Linked DNA regions of Homo sapiens: all the other regions are linked to region 4. The links are contacts of gene promoters, found by promoter capture Hi-C in blood cells and fetal thymus (Javierre and others, 2016). All regions are on one chromosome and are shown on one strand. Each heading gives the region's core, a stretch centred on a gene start or on the middle of the fragment in contact. The rest is flanking DNA. Distances are from core to core; before and after follow the strand shown. Region 1 overlaps CD274 (CD274 molecule). Region 2 overlaps INCR1 (interferon stimulated noncoding RNA 1). Region 3 holds the start of PLGRKT (plasminogen receptor with a C-terminal lysine). Region 4 holds the start of CDC37L1 (cell division cycle 37 like 1, HSP90 cochaperone). Region 5 overlaps INCR1 (interferon stimulated noncoding RNA 1).

Region 1 (2,700 bases), core at 144-2,643, 780 kb before region 4:
TAGAGAGGCTCAAAAAAGGAAAACTGACGGACCTAATAAAATAAAAAAATAGTAGTTGAATAAAAAAATTTCTGGAGGGACACACAAATAATGGTTACTCTCTCTGCATGCCATGGGAGATAGTGGTGAAGGGAGGAGGGACACTTTTGCAATTCATTTGATCTCTTCCACAGTATCTGAATTATTTGCAAGTATACGTATTCCATTTGTAATAAAAAAGTAAAGACTAGAAATTCTTTTTGGAAAACTGTACATACTGTAGAACATGGCTCTGTGTTGTTTGTCTCTGGATTTCCAGTGACTATCAAATAGGTGCTCAAGAAATTGGATAATTATGTGAATGAATTCATGAATTGAATGAATGAATGAACAGACTATGCTGTTCTGTTTGAAAATAAGTATGGACTTACAAGAATGAAAAGTCTTCAACACTTGGAATATGTTTTCAATAAAGATCAGGCCTCTCATCTATAATAATTCTTACCATTGACTTTCACAGTAATTCGCTTGTAGTCGGCACCACCATAGCTGATCATGCAGCGGTACACCCCTGCATCCTGCAATTTCACATCTGTGATCTGAAGTGCAGCATTTCCCAGGGAGAGCTGGTCCTTCAACAGCCGGGCCCTCTGTCTGTAGCTACTATGCTGAACCTTCAGGTCTTCCTCTCCATGCACAAATTGAATAATGTTCTTATCCTCCATTTCCCAATAGACAATTAGTGCAGCCAGGTCTAATTGTTTTTCTACTGGGAATTTGCATTCAATTGTCATATTGCTACCATACTCTACCACATATAGGTCCTTGGGAACCGTGACAGTAAATGCTAAAAAGAAAGAAGGACAATCTTCAGAAAAGGGAAAATTCCTCGAAACATTTACAAAATTGGCACAGCGTTTATAAATCACTTTATCTGGTCGGTTATGTTATCATTATATTTAAGAACTTGCTAAACACATATTTTATCCAATGGGCTTGAAATATGTTTTGGGACACTATATCTCATGCTGAGACACAGTGTCCCAATAGCAGAATAATAAAATTAGCTAAACAAGTTGCCCCCACAATTTATAAACATATATTACTGTATAAATATTATATGGAGATGGAGTCCTTACAACCAGGGAGACTTGGTTTCATGTAGACATCCCCAGAATGTCCTTTGACAGGACACCTATTTGCTTCCTACATAGAGGGAATGGTAGATTCTAACAGTCATCTCTTTTTACTTCCCTAAACTTTTGATCAGTTTTCTGGCAAGAAGTACATTGGTATGGAGTTCAGGAAAGAGCACAGGGTGATGCCAGTACTGTGTTAGCCTGACATTTTCCATGTATCTTACAATTCTTCCTTAAAGTATCCTCATCAGGAAAGGCATGTCACAGAGCAACCAAGACTGAAAGATCAAAGGATCTTGGCCTTGTTGAAAGCAAACAAATAAATGTATACATACAGGCCATTTCCCCAGATATTTTCAGTAGTTAACCCTGGGAAATGGGTAATAGATTATTTTGTGTCTTTCAATTTGTCTATATTCTCTATATTTTTACAAAATGACACAGGTAACTTTATCATTGCGTAAAGTAGAAAGAAGACTTTGCCATTGTGTAAAGTAGAAGAAAGAATAGAATGTTCTCTCTATAAGAAAATTGCATGCATTTTAAATGATCATTTTAGTTTTAAACTCATGGTTAAAATATTTAAAATATAGAACCTAATGGAAGGATTTGGTGTCTTACCGTTCAGCAAATGCCAGTAGGTCATGAATATAAAGACAGCAAATATCCTCATCTTTCTGGAATGCCCTAATTATGGAAAACACGAAAAGAAGACTGCTTCACTTAATAATTAAACATACAATATGACAATATGGGACTTGGTGGTTCTAACTGAAATAGTCTTCTAATAACCAGTCATGATTGACTTGTAATTGTGGAAACCCAACAGGGAATTGGAAGTTCAATATCTTCATTCCATTGCCCACAGCCACATAAACTTAAGTGAAAAAAGTTACTAAAAGATGAGAAGTTTCAAATTTATTATAGTTACAGGCCGTGAAAAAAATCTGCCCACTCAAAAGAAGCCAAGAAGATAATATTGCACCAAATTCCTCTCAATTATTTCATGTTTTTTCTGCATTGTAACATACCTAGTAGAACCTGCCCTGTACAAAATTTCAGAGCAAGGAGAATCTGACTTTTACTTTTCCAACCTGTCAATGCTTTTTCCCCCTACAGCTAAATACTTTCATCTTACCCTTTAGCTATTCAAGGCTTCCACTTCACTGTCTCAGCCATGCTAGTCCTCCTTCAGGTGCCATCCTTCAAAATCTCCTCTTCTGCCCCTCTCACTTATTCTAAATTATAAATCTATTCTCTCAATAAACAGATTCTTCTACTAACAGTGGGGAGTGGGAAGGGGAGAGAGTTGGATTTGACTAATTCATACTAAGATATGAATGACTCACAGCCACTCTTCCAGAGTATCTGCCTAGATTCTATTCTTCATTTAGTCATCCTGCTTGAAATGTGACTAATTATTTCGTTTAGCAAACACTGATTGAGCACCTCTTCTGTGCTAGGCACTATTTTAAGCATGAGGAATACGGAAGTCAGAGTGAAAGAAAAGTCACTCTCCTTTTGCAGTTTATGTTGAAGTAGGGGAGTAAAAGATTTATACTCTATTTCAGCCAATCTGTGC
Region 2 (2,700 bases), core at 36-2,535, 920 kb before region 4:
AGATTGGTTCAAAAGGTTTCTTTATTGTCCTGTCCTTCTTTGGTTTTGCTATCAAGGTTACGTTAATATCATTGAGTGAATTGTGTCATAGTCCCTCTTTTTCTGTTTTATAGGACATTTTTAAAGATTGGAATGATCTCGTTCTTGAAACCTAGGTGTAAGTAATTTGTAAACATATCTGAACTAAATATTTTCTTTGTGGGAAGATTTAAAAATATTGATTGCATTTCTTTGGTAGATACAAAACAATTCAGGTTCTCTGTTTTTGAGTAAGTTTTGGTAAATTATAGTTTTCTAGGAATTTGCCCATTTCACCTAAGTTTTTGAATATGTGGCCTAAATTGATTCAGAGTAGCTCATCTAAAAAAATCTTTGCCTTGTCTGTGATTAGGTCCCTTTTTATTCTAATATTGCTTATTTGTGCCTTCTTTTTTTTTCCTCGCTCAATCTCAGCAGAGATTGTTCTGTTTATAAAATAAAACTTTTAATTTTGTGGATTCTTTTTTTGTAGCTTTGTTTACTTTTTTCTGAACCTCTGTTTTTATCTCTGTTATCTATTTCCTCCTACTTTGATTGTTTTTCTATTTTTCCTCCTAATTTCTTGAGTTGAACACAAAGCTCATTAATTTTTAACCTTTCTTCTTGTCTGAAACAAGCTTTCAAATTAATAAATTGTCCTTAGAGAATGACTTTGACTGTTTTACAGAACATGGTAGGTGATATTTTCATTATCATTCGGCTTTTAGGATTTTTACATTTCTTCCATAATTTTTTCTTTGACACATGAATTACCTACAAGTGTGTTTCCACATTTTTCAATATATAAGAACTTTTATAGATTTATCTTTTGTTATTGCCTCTAACTTAATTACTTTGCGCACAGAGAATGAGGACTGTGTTATAATTTTGTGAGACTTGCCATATGGTCTAATAAATGGACAATTTTTGTAATTGCACTATGATATTTAAGAAAAATAAGTGCATTTGCCAACTGTTGGATGCAGAATTTTTATCTATTTGATTGTTATTAATTGTGTTGTTCAGATCTTCCATATTTTTAATATCTTTGCTTTGGGTGGTCTGTTGGTAATTGAGAGAGATATATTGAAAGCTCTCATTGGCAATTTCTCTTTGTAGTTCAGTAAATATTTGCTTTATATATTTGAAACAATTTTTCTAGGTGTAAAACTTTGAAGTTATTATATCACTGACAATTGGAACGTTTATAAAAATCAAGTAGTGGTCCCTCTCTAACTCTAACGATACCTATTTTCATCAGTCTATTTTGTGTGATTTTTAATATACACTTCTGTTTTTTTGGTTACTGTTTTCCTGCTACATCTTTCAACCATTTTGTGTCTTAAGTTTTAGGTTTTTCTTTTGAAAGAGCATGTAGTTAGAGGTTTTTTGTTTGTTTGTTCCCCAATCTGTCTTTTACTATAAAGTTTAGATTTATATTTATTATAATTATTAATATATCTAGACATTTTCTACCACCACACTTTTAATTTTTATTTGTCCAACTTTTATTTGGCTTTCCCCCTTTTCCTTTATTGCTCTCTACTCAGTTGATTGGGGTTGGGCTTTTGTTTGTAAGTTTGTTTTCTTTTTCCATTTTTCTCTCTTCTATTTTAGAAGTTATTGGACTTTTTGTTATCTGAAAATTGACTATAGTGACTTAGAAAAATTGCACCGAATATTCTGTATCTGAATAAAAAATCCACTGCAATGAATTCACATTCATCTGCTAGCAAAAGACATTGAAATTGCATGTAAGTCCAAATGAAAAGATGTAGAGTCCATTTCAGTCATAGCCGTTCTCTAGTAAGCTCACATATTGTGCTCCCATTACTTAAATAGGCATGGATTGTCACTATTACTGTATTTTCCACATTATTAAAGTGAAAAAGCTTATTAAAGGACAGAAAATGCCATAGAGAAAATAAGTGAATGTAAAATATTCACTGCATGGACACCAGACATTTACTGTTGTGCTCACTCCTTTACCAGCTCACTCTTGCCTAATATAATGCAATTATTTCTCATCAAATGAAAGCACACTGGCTTTCCCTGACCCAAAATAAGATCCAGAGTTCCTTTATCCATCTTTATGTGATCTACATTTCTCTTTTAGTTTAGTCACATTCACCCTTCAATAGATACCCTGTAACTGAAATAGTGGGATATAGAGTTAATTCTTTTAGCACGTAAACATGCAAAGAAATATTACACAGCAGTGAAAATGGAGTACTACATGTAACAATATTGATATATCTTACAAACATAATGTTAAGTAAAAAAGATAATTTGTAGGATAATATATACAGTAGAATTCCATTTACATAAGTCTGAAAGCACACCAGGGCAGAAGTGGGTCATGTAATTAATATAGCCTGTGTTCTGTTTGGCAAGCAAGGCACCTTGGTTTAGAGTTGTGTCCAACCCAAAGAAGAGGAGCTTTTTTTCTAATTTGCACAGAGGCTCTGGATGGGCTACCTATGACTCTGGGTATATGTAAAGGTATTGGTAATATTCTAATTCTTATATTTGGTGATGGGGTCATGGTTTTTATTCTGTAATGTTGTTACCTCAAACCTACTAGTTTGCTTCCCTAGAGTCAGTTGTTGTTGACAGTTGCTTGTATATCCATCCAAAGATACCTAGTGCTTTGGAAGCACAGACAAATGTATATTTGTGCTT
Region 3 (2,700 bases), core at 175-2,674, 760 kb before region 4:
CACATGTACCCTAGAGCTTAAAGTGTAAAAACAAACAAAAAAAAGAAATGGTGTGCTGGATATTTTCTATTTCTCCCTCCAGGCATTGTGCCTAGTAGGCTGACCTCTACAGACTACACAGACCTAGCTCCACTGTCTTCTGGCTTCCTGGTGGATCCAGCCAGCGGAAGACCCCAGCTGGATATCAGAGCTGGGAGAACAGAGAGGTGGGTCTTCTCCACTCTGTCCCTGCTTTGGGCTGACGTCTCAGCACTGGCTACAACTATAGAATCTCACCTTACTTGGTGAAAAGTTGGCATTGCTTGCTTTCCTCTACTGAACGACACGGTTCCAGTTGGTTACTCTCTCGTACAGCCACAGCTACCGCTCTCGCTCTCGCCTGGTTTTAGTAACTGCTTCCTTCCCCCACCCCTCAGCCCTATAGTTACTAACAGCTCCCCGCTGTTACTGGTTACTACTGGTTACGGAAGGCGAACTATGTGCCCGACACTGTGCTAAATGCCCACATATATTATCTTTTAGTCCTCACAATCCAATAAATTAGATGGCTTTAGTCCTGTTGCAGAGGTGATAAATTCAGAGTGACAGTGACAGAGCTAGAAATTGAAGGTAGGTGTGTTTATGCTAGAGTCTGTGCACTCAAACACGATTCCTTACTTCTTGCATCAGTTGTTAACCTCCCTTCAAGAGTGTCAAACCTCCTGGTAACCCGCCCATTCCCTTAACTGGAAATGAGGGTGCTGTTGCAATTTTCTCATCCAGCCATTCCACAAATGGTATCTGGAATGTGGGACCCACAGTCCAGAATCCTGAGGGCTGCTGTTGAGAGCATCAAGACGCGCCCAGGAGGTCAGGGCGGTGTGCACTCACACGCTGAGCCTGGAGAAAGTTAGACGCCTTCTCCACCGCTGTGGTGGTTAGCAGGGACTTTCCTGAAGGCCAGAGACTGGTGACGTTCATGCTATTTTTCCAAGCCATTTGGTAGCAAAGAACAGAGTGCCAACAATTCAAGCATTCTCTCAGGCTGGGAGAGAGACGTGGCTTATTCAAGATAGAAATTGCTGGTGAGGTTGAGGCGAGACCGACATCTCTCTGAGCAGCAGGGGAGAAAGACGGCTCTGTTCAAAAAAGAATGGGTAATTTCAGTCAATTCTCTTCTTTCTCGTTTCTGTCTTATCTTTATGACTTTTTAATAGTGCCAATTTAACAGATGAGGGGACAGAGGCCTTTAATTGAGAATTCCACTCCGCTTCCTCTGCCTCATCTCAAAAATCTGGCAGCTGAGTCGCCGCGGCTTTGAATTTGCCTCTTTTGACCTTCCCCTCCCACCTCTGGTAACACTGAGCCTGGCCCGGAAGGACACACCCGGCTTCTGGCGGAAGTGCCGGCTCTTTAAAGAAGCTGAGGGCTGCGCGAATTGGCTGAGGTGCGTCATCTACTGTGTCTGGGCGCCAATCCCGACGCTGGGCGGAGCGAGGCCCGGTCCCTGCAGCGGGCGAAAGGAGCCCGGGCCTGGAGGTTTGCGTACCGGTCGCCTGGTCCCGGCACCAGCGCCGCCCAGTGAGTGAACACCGGCCGCAGGCGGGTGGGGAGAAGGGTCAGCCCGGCCATGTCAGTCAGCGCGATCTCCTGGGCTCCGGGCTTGCCAGGCAGCGCTGGGCGCCCGCTCCTCGTGAGCGCCGGCTCTTGGCTCTCGCACTGCCCCTGGTGCTGATAGGTATTGCCAACTTCGTTCCATTAGAGCGCGTTCTTGTCGCCTGGCGTGGACTCCGGATCTCTCCGTAGCTTTAAAATAGAGTTGAGAAAAACAGGCACAGTGCTCTCAACAGAAATCAGCACACTATTGCGGGGAATACCTAAATTACAGTAACTGGCCTCAGGGAGCAAGGGCGGTGTTAATTACAGAAAACCTCCGGAAGCTGTGGGCTCTGGGCTGGAATTTGCAAGGGGATGTGGCTTAATTTCAATGGGATGCAAATATTGAAAATGACTGTGGTGAGACGATCAGTCATACATTCAGGCAATGTGTCATCTGATCGGGAAATAAGTCAGCGTGGTAATCCCGATGACAGAATTCATGCAATTAATTTTTTATGTCCCCCCAAGTAAAATCAAATCTAGGTACTCACGGGTGACCGGAAGAAAGGTTGTCTGGAACTTGCAGGCACCACTTCTCCTCCCCAGAAATACACCTTCCCATAGTAATCTATAGCTCACCTGAGGCAGGGCTGAAGCATTAAAGACCCCTTCCAAGATCTCAGAAGGAATCAAAGGGAAAATGAAGACAGAGGGATTGAAATCAGCATTCTCTGCAAAACATCACTCTGAGACACAGTGATGTTTAAAATTGTATAAGTAGCAAGACATTTTTTTTTACCCCTGGTGAAAAGTGTTAGAATTTTTAAAAGACTTAACTTATACAAGTGAGTGAAATCAAAGTTATCCCTATTGCAAGGTCAATTTTGCTTATTTTCTGATACATATTTTGTGAGCAAGAGGAGATAGCTGAAAGTGTTCTGGACACCCTACGGAATATTCCCAGACTTTGGGAAATGACTTTGCCAGGAATGGGGAAGTTGGGAAAGGAAAGAATGTTGAAAATACTGAACTCCAGGGTGAAATTTACAAGGTGTGATGCATTTATTTATTCTCAGGTGTGGTTTCCCATAAGGAAGCTCTTCTTCCTGCTTGGCTTCCACC
Region 4 (2,700 bases), core at 178-2,677:
CCCCAGTGACTTAGCTGGCCAAAGTACAGACAGTGGTTATGAAACAGCATTTTTCTCTGTGTGAAGCCAACTAACCCTGTTAGCTGGACATAAGATTGATAATGTCACGCTTACTGGTAAGCAATTTAACTCATTCTCATTAACATCTAGCAAAATAAGTTGAGAGGAAAACTACTATTAAATCTGTTACACTCTTGGGAACCCCATTTTGCAAGAAGGCGGCAGACACTTATGATCCATTGAATATATTAGTGTTTAGTCTGTGATTCTGAAATATACTTCCAAAACACACACGGATTCGGAGAAAAAAACAGGACAAGGTGATGCGAGTATGTAAGTATCCCCTAAGATAGGTCCCTGAAAAATCCTTAATAGTATATCACATTTGGATACGTTTCAGTCGCAGGAAGGCAGGAATGCTGGATTGAAAACACAATACCAGGAACCTAAGAGAAGTCTGAAGGAAAACACAAGTATATGCGTATATATTTTCACTGGAGAATGACGTGAAGCAAAACTAAAAAACAAAACAGTAAGGCAAAGATGGTCACGCGAATGGGAGAGGTGTACGCCAGCGTCAAAAGCGAGATTTAAAGAATTTACTCAGTTGTCAACATCGGTGAAAATCGCATGTGAAATCTTTGTCAGGACTCAGTGTGATGCTGAACTACAATCATTCACTGTTCCTAGCAACTGTGCACAAGTATGCTAGAGCCTTTAACAGAATAAAGTGCTTGGGGAAAACCTCTCACAAGAGGACAAAGGGTCAATGTTACAGCATGAGCCGCCCCAAATCTGAGTGCTGTCAGGAAGGGGAGATGGAGGAAGGTATTCCAAGAGTGAACAGGAATCAGCCAAGGCGAAAGAAAACATGTGCGTGGAGGTGGAGGTTGGTAATATATGGCCACCCCGTCTGCCCTCCGAAGATGCCATAAAAGGGGTGGGATGGCATCAGGCGTCAGGTCCCAGGTCCCCGGCCCCTGGCAGTGAGGTGGGCGTAGAAAAAGGCGTAGAAGAGGGTCTGGGAGACGCGGCATTCCAGGGGTTTGGCGACAGCACCACTCCATCCCTCCGCAGAACGCAGGCCCCTTCTCACCTGGGCGCCGCCGCCTGGCAGCTGCGGGCAGCGGGGAGAACTGGGGAACACGTCGAAGTCACTCTCTTCCTCAGCCTCACCCTCGGCCCGAGGGAGGCTCCAGGGTCCCGGAGGCGGCCACGGTTGTTCCATGTCCGGCTGCTCCGGGTCCTACAACCGCCCTTGGCCCTACAACTGCCACTGCCAACAGACTTGGCGTGAATGGAACCTGCTGCGCCGAGCCAGAAGCCCAGCCGGGGGTCCGGGCCGTTACCCAGAATCCCTCTACTGGCCGCGACGCCGCTGCACACCCGGCGACAGCCTGGGCCTCGCCACCGGCGGACGGCGGAAGAAATAGTCGGCGCGGTGCGTCACTTCCGGTTGGGGCGGGGCTGTGGAGGCGCGTCCCGGGCCCTTTGCGTGTAGTGGGTGGATCTGCAATTGTATTCCTGTTTCAAGCCCCGTTTTCTTGCAGCTCTTCGGCACTGCAAACCTAACCGCTAATGGCGCTGTGGGTGGAGAAACGTTTGTTAGGTAGCGTTATATATTGTTATCTGGTGTTCCCTATACCGAAAACGGCGGGTCCTGGCCGCCGGGAGGTACTCAGACCAGGTGTGCACTTTACATGTTGCTTAAAAATTGCAACTCATTCCTTTACATTGACATTTAAACCAGTGATTCTAAGGCAGAGTTGGGGCGGAGGGAGGAGAATTTTGAACAAGCGGAGCCAATTTTCGTCTCATTTCTAATTACAGGCAACAACAGAATTCTGCGAAACTTGGTTGGTTGGAGGAGCACACCAAAAATAAAGTACCGGAGCCGGCACGGCTTCAAAAAAATTAGGATCAGTACCGCTAGTAGCGAACGCATAAGAAGGGCTTCCTGTATGCCTGCGTATCTTGTTTAAGCCTAAAGATATGTACTCTCTTTATCCTCTTTTTTTGAGACGAGGAAGTAGACCCAGCATGCCCGAGATCACACATTTTACAAGGAAGAAGTAGGATCCAGACCCAGGGAGTTTAACTTCAAAACTTGAACGTTTAACAATCAGGTCTTGCTGCCCTACTCATAAAGAGACCCAAATAAAAACAACATGACGCCATTTTTTTCCATGTGTTTAGACTGGCAAACTTGTGAAGTCGCTTAATACCAAATGTGTACCAAGATGTAAGGAAATGATGTGAGAATGTCATTAGTATAACCTTTTAGGAGGAGTAATTTGACAATATGAGAGGCTTGAGCGGATTGATTCAGCAATTTCACCACTAAGAAAGTATGCAACAATTATTTTTGCACCAATATCCAAAGATTTACTACAAAGATTTCTGGCAGCAATTTTTGTGTGTGTGTGGCAAGAAAAAAAAAAGCATTCTAATTGTCCATCGATAGAGGAACTTAAAGTATGGAATATTAATACAATGGCATATTACCCTTTTTAAAAAAAGTAAATTGTATCTGAATATGCTGATATATAAATACCTCCAAAAGGTATTGAGTTTTAAACAAAGCAACTTGCAGAATTAAACATATGCGTACGTATACAGAGAGAGAAGAGAGAGGGATGGTATTTGTTTGCGTCCGTGTGTGTGTGTGTGTGTGTGTGTGTGTGTGTGTGTGTTTGCGCA
Region 5 (2,700 bases), core at 94-2,593, 910 kb before region 4:
TTCTTGTCTGTGTCATCAGCCTTGTTCCATCCTTAGATACAAAGAGGGTTGAAAACAGGATGTTTGAAAACAGGATGTTTGGGTTAAAAAACAGGGTTGAAGAAAAAAAGAATAATATTCAGAAAAGAATGTGGCAAGTGGACATAGTTCTTAAGGAACCCTACAAATGAGATTTGAAAACCTGGCTCATTTCATGATTCATTGACTCAAAGATTTTAAGGACATATTTCAGCTGGTAGAAAAAAGTTCACTTGAGGATAACATCTTGAGAGTCAAGTTGAAGATAAAAGACTCCTGTTTCTGGTATCTCTGTGAAACATAAACGAGGGTACCCTTTAGGACCAAGTACTTCATAGAAAGTTAGAGCTGGAAGGGGATTTACAAGCCATTTCATTTTAGTCTTCTCAGGAAACTGAGGCTCATAGGAGTTAAGTGTCTAGTTTGAAGAATTATGGGATCTTAGAGTAAGAAGATTTGTAATTCATCACCTAAGGGAAGAATACTTTCCAGAGTATCCTGAAAAATGGTAGCTCCAGGCTATGTAGATATATCCAGGAACCAGGAGGTTAACCTTTGATGAACAGCTCTAGTTGTTAGTGAATTCTTTCCATTTCTGGGCCAAATTCTTCTTCAATGTAACTTGCACCCATTGATCTTGGCTCTCATGTCTTCCCTTGATAATTCTTCTCCAGGAGAAATGCGCCCAGCTTCTTCCAATATTCCTAGTCTAGGGGTGGCTTCAAGCCCGATTGCCATCTTGGGTGCTTCCCTCTAGATCTACTCTCATTTATTCATGTCCCAATTAACAAGTCGGGCCCAGAATAGAACAAAATATTCTAGAGGTAGGCTGGCCTAGACATAGTAGGTTCCATAGGACTATTTGTTCCCAGTTCTGAACAGTGTCCTGTCAACACTGCTGAAGTTCTCCTTAGTGTTTTTGTTTTGTTTTGAGACAGGGTCTCACTTTGTTGCCTAGGCTGGAGTGCAGTGGTGAGGTCATGGCCCATTGCAGCTTTGATCTCCTTGGGCTCAGGTGATCCTCCTACCTAAGCCTCCCTAGTATCGGGACTACAAGTGTGCGCCATCACGCCCAGCTAATTTTTGTATTTTTTATAGAGACGCAGTTTCGCCATGTTGCCCAGGCTGGTCTCAAACTCCTGGGCTCAAGTGATCCACCTGCCTTGGCCTCTTAATGGGCTGGGATTATAGGCATGAACCACCATGCCCAACCTCCTTAGTTTTTAAGCAATTGGATTTCAATTCAACCTGCATTTGTACTTAGGGCACATTTGTAGTTTATGAGTATGATACTGTTTAAATTCTTTTCTATTAAATCCCCAGAACTTTTTCATATTAACTGCTAATAAACTGCTCTTCCATCTTAGGTGTGTGGATCAAAAGCAGGACCTTTCATTCTACCTCTTTGGTTTTGACCTCGTGATTCAACCTGGGACTTAATTTTTTTATTTTTTATTTTTATTTTTTGAGGCAGGGCGTCATGCTGTTGTACAGGCTGGAGTGCAGTGGTACAATCTTGGCTCACTGCAGCCTCAACCTCCCGGGCTCAAGCGATCCTCCCACCTCAGCCTCCCAATTAGCAGGGATCACAGGCACACACTACCACACCTGGCTAATCTTTGTATTTTTTGTAGAGATGGAGTTTTGCTATGTTGCCCAGGCTGGTATTGAACTCCTGACCTCAAGTGATCTGCCCGCCTCGGCCTCCTAAAATGCTGAGATTACAGGTGTGAGCCACTGTGGCAACCTGGGATTTTGAAATAGAAACTCTTCTATCCAACTGACTCTCTCTCCCTACTTTATTAATCATCATATATTATAAGCTCATCTTCTATGTTTTCATCCAAGTTACCCATAAGACAGAGGGAAAAAGACAATTTTTTAGTAGTTGCTTTGTCAACCTAACCTCTTCTCTCAACCATATTCACTTACTCACAAGGATATAAATGTACATCTTGTTGTGTGCTGTGATTAAAAATCAATATATTCTATGTCTATGGCAACTCCATGAGCTACCAAACTTGTAACTCCCTAAGCTACCAAACTGGTAACTTTTTTTTTTTCTTTTTGAGACAGGGTCTCATTCTGTTTCCTAGGCTAGAGTGTGGTGGTGTATTCACAACTTACTGCAGCCTCAACCTCCTGGGCTCAGTCGATCCTCCCACCTCAGCCTCCCCAGTAGCTGGGACTGCAGGCGTGCACCATCACACCTGGGTAATTTTTGTATTTTTTGTAGAGATAGGGTTTTGCCATGTTGCCCAGGCTGGTCTTGAACTCCTGAGCTCAAGCCATCTGCCTGCCTCAGCCTCCCAAAGTGCTAGGATTACAAGTGTAAGCCACCATGCCCAGCCCAAACTGGTAACTTTACTGAAAAAGAAATGGGATAAATTAGGCAAGTTACTTAACTTCTATAAGCCCAAGTTTCCTCATCCATAAAATGTGAATATTTGTTCTACTCCCTTTACCAGGTGGTAGTGAGGCTCAACTAGTATAACAAGACATTTGAAAATGCTTTGTAAACTTAAAAAAATTTTTTTTTGAGATGGAGTCTTGCTCTGTCGCCCAGGCTGGAGTGCAGTGGCGTGATCTCAGCTCACTGGAAGTTCCTCCTCCCAGGCTCAAGCAATTCCCCTGCGTCAGCCTCCCAAGTAACTGGTGGGCACTCATCACCACGCCCGGCTA

The links. Contacts are between HindIII fragments. The CHiCAGO score rates a contact against its expected background, and 5 or more counts as called.
Region 1: a contact is called between a fragment that was not itself captured here and the fragment with the promoter of CDC37L1 in region 4, in 1 of 17 cell types (neutrophils). The highest score is 6.1, in neutrophils.
Region 2: a fragment that was not itself captured here is called in contact with the fragment with the promoter of CDC37L1 in region 4 in 1 of 17 cell types (monocytes); the score reaches 5.0 in monocytes.
Region 3: a contact is called between the fragment with the promoter of PLGRKT here and the fragment with the promoter of CDC37L1 in region 4, in 5 of 17 cell types (monocytes, erythroblasts, neutrophils and 2 more). The highest score is 9.4, in monocytes.
Region 5: a contact is called between a fragment that was not itself captured here and the fragment with the promoter of CDC37L1 in region 4, in 1 of 17 cell types (neutrophils). The highest score is 6.3, in neutrophils.

The regions. Positions count from the first base shown.
Region 1 is chr9:5,455,205-5,457,904 of GRCh38, reverse strand. CD274 (CD274 molecule) reads right to left here. Exons shown (of 7, transcript NM_014143.4): 2 at 1,740-1,805; 3 at 485-826. The coding sequence starts at 1,791. It overlaps INCR1 (interferon stimulated noncoding RNA 1), which reads left to right. Exons shown (of 3, transcript XR_007061406.1): 3 at 1-474. Among named protein-coding and RNA genes, the nearest start is that of CD274, 6.0 kb to the right of the region's middle. The HindIII fragment of the contact is 5,729 bases long and covers 1-2,700 here.
Region 2 is chr9:5,602,349-5,605,048 of GRCh38, reverse strand. The region is part of intron 1 of INCR1 (interferon stimulated noncoding RNA 1); the gene reads left to right. Among named protein-coding and RNA genes, the nearest start is that of RIC1, 25 kb to the left of the region's middle. The HindIII fragment of the contact is 1,254 bases long and covers 659-1,912 here.
Region 3 is chr9:5,436,649-5,439,348 of GRCh38, reverse strand. PLGRKT (plasminogen receptor with a C-terminal lysine) reads left to right here and starts at 1,424. Exons shown (of 6, transcript NM_018465.4): 1 at 1,424-1,560; 2 at 2,655-2,700. RefSeq lists enhancers at 58-217, 1,778-1,867, 923-2,122. The HindIII fragment of the contact is 16,310 bases long and covers 1-2,700 here.
Region 4 is chr9:4,678,296-4,680,995 of GRCh38, reverse strand. It overlaps CDC37L1 (cell division cycle 37 like 1, HSP90 cochaperone), which reads right to left and starts at 1,427. Exons shown (of 7, transcript NM_017913.4): 1 at 1,097-1,427. The coding sequence starts at 1,228. It overlaps CDC37L1-DT (CDC37L1 divergent transcript), which reads left to right and starts at 1,516. Exons shown (of 2, transcript NR_121598.1): 1 at 1,516-1,609. RefSeq lists an enhancer at 1,204-1,293. The HindIII fragment of the contact is 3,086 bases long and covers 1-2,700 here.
Region 5 is chr9:5,583,844-5,586,543 of GRCh38, reverse strand. All of the region lies in intron 1 of INCR1 (interferon stimulated noncoding RNA 1), which reads left to right. Among named protein-coding and RNA genes, the nearest start is that of RIC1, 44 kb to the left of the region's middle. The HindIII fragment of the contact is 4,973 bases long and covers 1-2,700 here.